Regions from separate parts of the Homo sapiens genome. Here region 1 is linked to region 2. Evidence: promoter capture Hi-C in 16 types of primary human blood cells and fetal thymus (Javierre and others, 2016). All regions are on one chromosome and are shown on one strand. Each heading gives the region's core, a stretch centred on a gene start or on the middle of the fragment in contact. The rest is flanking DNA. Distances are from core to core; before and after follow the strand shown.

The links. Contacts are between HindIII fragments. The CHiCAGO score rates a contact against its expected background, and 5 or more counts as called.
Region 1: a fragment that was not itself captured here is called in contact with the fragment with the promoter of CD180 in region 2 in 1 of 17 cell types (megakaryocytes); the score reaches 5.2 in megakaryocytes.

What each region holds. Positions count from the first base shown.
Region 1 is chr5:66,300,693-66,303,608 of GRCh38, forward strand. All of the region lies in intron 1 of LOC124900988 (a long non-coding RNA gene), which reads left to right. Among named protein-coding and RNA genes, the nearest start is that of LINC02065, 93 kb to the left of the region's middle. The HindIII fragment of the contact is 2,316 bases long and covers 111-2,426 here.
Region 2 is chr5:67,195,211-67,198,059 of GRCh38, forward strand. CD180 (CD180 molecule) reads right to left here and starts at 1,589. Exons shown (of 3, transcript NM_005582.3): 1 at 1,342-1,589. The coding sequence starts at 1,431. RefSeq lists an enhancer at 413-562. The HindIII fragment of the contact is 10,485 bases long and covers 1-2,849 here.

The sequences.
Region 1 (2,916 bases), core at 19-2,518, 890 kb before region 2:
TTTGGGTTTGAATGAAATATTCACAATCACCTACACATTGGCTTTAGTATTCATCTCCATAGATATAATCCTTTAAAAACACAACTTAAATTCCTTGGCTTGAATTCCTAAGCTTCTGTACAGAAATCAGGAAGAGAGAATTTTCTTTGGTTGGAACTCATTGCTGATTAGGGACATGGTATTTGTGTAAGGGTGGGGAGGAGTGGGATTCTTCCATGGAGGCAGGTTCTGGAACCCTCAAAGCAGCACATTCGCAAGCCCGACGTATAATTTGGAGCTTCCATGTATGCTCTTGACATCTTTCCAAACGAGGTCTGGTAAACTTCTCCAGGATGTTCTTCCTTATTCCTTGAAAGGTGGTTGATATAGTTTGGCTGCCTCTTCACCCAAATCTCATCTTTAATTTTAATGCTCATAATCCTTATGTGTCGAATGAGGGAACTAGTGGCAGGTGATTAGATCATGGGGGCAGTTCCCCCATGCTGTTCTCCTGATAGTGAGTGAGTTCTCATGAGATCTGACGGCGTTATAAGGCAGTTTTCCCTGCTCTTGCTTGCTCTCTCTCAACTTCCGCCACGTAAGACGTGCCTACTTCACCTTCTGCCATGATTGTAAGTTTCCTGAGGTCTCCCCAGCCACGCAGAACTCTGAGTCAATTAAACCTCCTTTCTTTATAAATTACCCAGTCTCAGGTATGTCTTTAAAGCAGTGTGAACAAGACTAATACAGTGGTCTCAGGAAGATGAGGAGAAAAGACAGGAACTCTGTTAGCATAGTAATACTTTGTGCTTTTGTGGCAAGCATGGTAAATAGTAACAAGAGGAACATTTATTTGATTTGTTTGCTGGGGAGGCTCAAAAGAACCAACTAGTCCCTCTGGCTTCATTGAGGGGGTCCACTCGGGAGGCATCAGGAGATTGGTTAAAAACACTGAGGGGGCTGGGCACGGTGGCTTACACCTGTAATCCCAGCACTTTGGGAGGCCGAGGTGGGTAGATCACCTGTGGTCAGGAGTTCATGACCAGCCTGGGCAGCACGGCAAAACTCTGTCTCTACAAAAATGTTAAAATTAGCCTGGCATGGTGGCGCATGCCTGTAGTCCCAGCTACTCCAGAGGCTGAGGCATGAGAATCGCTTGAACTCTGGAGGTGGAGGTTGCAATGAGCTGAGATCTCACCACTGCACTCCAGCCTGGGTGACACAGAGAGACTCCATCTCAAACAAACAAACAAACAAACAAGCAAAAAACATAAAAAGGTGGGGGGTTGGGTAATGGGGAGAAAATGGAAGGAAGAACAAAGCAAATGTAAGGAAGAAAGATGTGGCCTGTGTGTGAACTGGCAGGCAAGGCAAGGGGAAAAGGGACAAACTCCTGTGAGTTGTCCTTTGACTCCATGTGAATGTGAGACCACCAAACAGTAAGTGATGGACTGTGGTATCTTGCCCTTGCAGGGGTTATCTGTATAATCTGACTCTTGCCTCCTTATACTTCTCTGAGCTCCTCTATTGGATTATAGGAGTTTCTTGAACAAATACATGAAATAATCTTGAACATTACACACCTTTGTTATTCTCAAAGGCATCATGTGTTCCATATGACCTTGACCTTGGTGGCAGGGGCAGAAAAGCTCCACACTCAGCCTTCCATGCTCTCTTCTCTTCCCTGGGGGCTTGAAATCTGCAAACCACCCTCCCTTCCTGTTAGGTCTGCCAGTGCTCCCACAGTGGAGGGCATTCACTGGGAGCAGGTGGGGAGACTTAGGGAGGCCGCTGGCAGCAGTGAGTGGCTAAGGGCGGCCGTGGGCAACTGCATCATGGCGGCTTTGGTGGCACCAGCGGGCCTGTAGGCTCCTTGGTTCCCCATGGGCAGCAGCAGTGCCTTCTCCAGCAGGAGCGCCACGTGCAAGTTCTTGTCCACAGGCAGCAGCCGCTTGCAGACGGTTGGGTAACCCCCTTCGCCTTGGTGCTCCTATGCCCAAACCAAATCTTTTCTTTCTCGTATGTTCTTCCAGGCCTTCTACCACTTCTATAACTAAGCGTCTGTTTACATCCTTTTCTCATCAAAATATCCCCAGGGGTTTCATTTTCCTGAGCGAACACCGAACACCGACCCAGCCAGCAATCTTGCCCAAGTCTAAGATCATTCCCAAAGGGGGCCCAGACTTGCCTGTTTGTGTTCTCTTAGCTTTCAGGTTCAGTGTGACAGCTTTGTGGAGCCTCGCACCTATGGTTAAGAATTGTTAACATCATTGTCTTTTTTTTTTTTTAAAGGCAACCAACCAGGGGACTGATGGACATATCAATATACTGTAGTGACTAAAGCTAGGGAAGAAATTATAGGACAATGTACAGTGATAGAAATTTGAAGCTGAACTCCTCTTGACAGCCTCTGCCCTTCTACTCATCAGGATGTTAGCTGTTACACAAGCTTTGTCAAAAGGTGACAGAATTGTCAGTCAATGTTATGTGATGAACTTGGGCTGACACTGGTTGCTCTACTGATTTTTCTTAAGCTATACCACAGCAGGTCCTCAGATAATGTCATTTCATTCAGCATCATTTTGTTATAACATTGATGAGAAAAAAAATTGCTTCCCAGCTGGGGCCATTGTCTATGTGGAGTTTGCATGGTCCCCCATGTCTGTGTGGGTTTTCTCTGTGTACTCTGGTTTCTTCCCACATCATGAAGATGTGTGCATTAGGTGCATCGGCATGTCTAAATAATCTCATCTGGAGTGAGTGTGGGTGTGTGTCAGTGCACCCTGTGATGGGATGATGTCCTGGCCAGGGCTGGTTCCAATCTTGCAGCCTGAGCTGTTAGGATAGGTTCTGACCACCCGTAACCCTGAAGTGGTATAAGTGGGTGAATAATTATCTTACTCGTTTTTATTAATATTTTTTTGGATGGAGTTTCAC
Region 2 (2,849 bases), core at 339-2,838:
GTGTATTTTTGGTTTGTTTGTTTTAAGACAGAGTCTTGCTCTGTCGCCAAGGCTGGAGTGCGGTGGCACAATCACGGCTCACTGCAACCTCTGCCTCCCGGGTTTGAGTGAGTCTCCTGCCTCAGCCTCCCGAGTAGTTGGGATTACAGGCATGTGCCACCATGCCCAGCTAATATTTGTATTTTTAGTACAGATGGGGTTTTGCCATGTTGCCCAGACTGGTCTCGAACTCCCAGTCTCAAGGCATACACCCACCTTGGCCTCCCAAAGTGCTGGGATTATAGGCGTGAGCCACCACGCCTGGCCCAGTCTGTGGCATTTGTTATGACAGCCCAAGCAAAGCAACACACACCTTCCCAGCCTTCATTTCTCATTGGCATGATGCCTCCTCTTGGCCTGCTGCTGATTCCATCCTAATGCCAGACCAACAAGGCTCTGCTCACCCAGCTCTGAGCCTTACCCCAGTGCTGGCTTTGCTCTGCTCTTCCTGATCCTCTGATCTCCTTCTAGTCCTGCCCCAGGGCAACTCCACATCTGGCTATTCCTGGCTCTTACTCTTCTTTTTACCTCAACCCAGACCAGCAGCTCACCAAGCCACCAAGACTCATGGTTCCTCCTGTATGCAGCCCTTGTCTGACAGGCCACGTGGTATTGATCACTTGTGGGGTCAGAGAAAGTGGGAGGAAGTTTGAAGCATTTTAGAGGATGGCAAGAGACGGAGGCCCTTCTCCTTTTTCTCTCATTATCCCCTCCAAGAACTTCCCACAGGTTGATAAATATTGCTATGGTCCAAAACAGAAGGTGCAATTTGGCTCTATTCTCAGATTTTCCTCCTATGGGTTAGTAAAACAGATGGAAGGCTGTCCAAGTCCAAGAGAGAGCCAGACTCATTCAGAGTGATCTTTTCAATGCTCGAAAACCTGGCACAGCGCTGTCTTTACTAATTCTCACCCTGAGAGGAGACCAAAGGACTCATTGGGATAGAGGCCATGTGAGAGTGGGGATGTTAAACCAACAGCTCCCCTAGGTTGAGGCAGGTTTAGGGGTCTGCTTTGTGCACACAGACCCTATTAATATCTTATGACCCACTTGGGATTATTTGGGTGGAATTGTTTGAAGAGGAGAAAAATTCTCTTTGCTTCCTATTAAGATGCCACCAGATGATCCCCTGGCAGAGTTCTTTGGCTCCTTTCTCACAATAATGAAAAAATTATATATACACCTTATTTCCTTTTTAAAGACACTAGATATTGGGATGCCAAGGCTCAGATTGGACTGCGTGCTAAATCTCAAAATTTTCAGACAGTTTAATCTGCATAAAGACAAACAGTTTGGACTCACCTCAATGCACATCTGATCCCAGGAGGTGATGACTTTACAGCCGGCAGAAAACAGCACCACCCAAAAGAAGCAGCTGACGTCAAACGCCATCACAGGCTAGGATTGCTTGGTGGGTTTACCTAATGCTTGGAGCTGAGAAATGGAATCAAACTGTGAAGGCCCTGGCAATTTGGCAGCCAGAGAGGTACTCAGAAGGGTGATCTTGGAACAAGAAATGCTGTTGACTGCTCAGCATTCTGTGGCTCTGTGCTGGAAAAAAAAAAAAAAAAAAAAAAGGAAGTCCCTTTTGCATACCACCCATCTTTGCCAAAAATAACTGAGGACCCAACCCCAGAATGGCCCGTTGCATTTCCTGGCACTGAACATGAATCAGTTGTGCAGTCCTTTTGGGCTGATCACACAGACTCTCATTGTGATGGTTCCAATTGACTTTATGCCAACTTCAAGCATTTGGCCAACTCCAACAGCTTCTGGTCCTTTTCCCCGAGAGAGGCTGTGGAAGCTCTACTCACCAAGGAGGCCACTTTCTTAGTTGTCCTAGGTGAGTGAATAGAAGAGGTGTCAGAGAACATGGAAGGGCAGAGCACTCTGCAGGGGCAGACTGAAGAACTGAGCCCTTCAGTGGCACCTGCTGAGCTGGGAACTGGAGCAGGAGGGAGCAGGCTTGAGAGTGTATCTGCTCCTTGAGCCTCAGCTGCTGCCTTGGCCACCTTGTCCATCCCCACCTCTGGTCTTCGTATAGGGGGAAGATTACTTCATCTCTTGACCTGGCGGTTCAGGCTTGTTAAAGCAGTTGGGGTGGACTCTCTTGTTCCCTCCTAACCTGGCCTGGGGAAGTAGGGGACACTGCCATAGATAGAGCAGCCTGGCTAAAGGAGAGTAGAGTTAGGGATGCCAGCCTTGGCTCTATTTCTTCTTAGAAATAGCTTTGAAGCAGGATTACAATTACCCTTATTATGGAGCAAGATGTGGCAATGATTAAAGAAAGCCAAAGTTCAAACATTCCTCAATAGGCTGCATTTAGCTACCTGTTCTGTCTGTTCTTCAACCCTCTGGCATACAGGATATATTTGGTGTTACTGTTCTCCCACTCCATTTCCAAGAGCCCAGTTCTTAGTATCAGAGTTCACAATGACTTAACTACTGCTACTACTACTACTACCACCACCACCACCACCACCACCTCTACAGTATTACTATGATGAATCAAATGACTATAGTATCTGCCATTTATTGAGTCCTTACTATGTGTCAGACACTGGGTCAGGTTTAATGCAGTTTTTTGCTGCATTTTCCTATCCTCGAATATTTCCATATATTCTATAAGAGAGATATTATTATTTCCCTCATTTTATAGATGTAGAAACTGATGCTTAAGAGAAATTAAATGATCTCTCCAAGCCACACAATTAGAGAGTGGTAGATTAGGGCTTCAGATCCAGAAAATCTCACTGCAGAGACTATGCTGCTACTCTTCACAGTTTAAGAAAGGACTTTGCCTCCTGAAG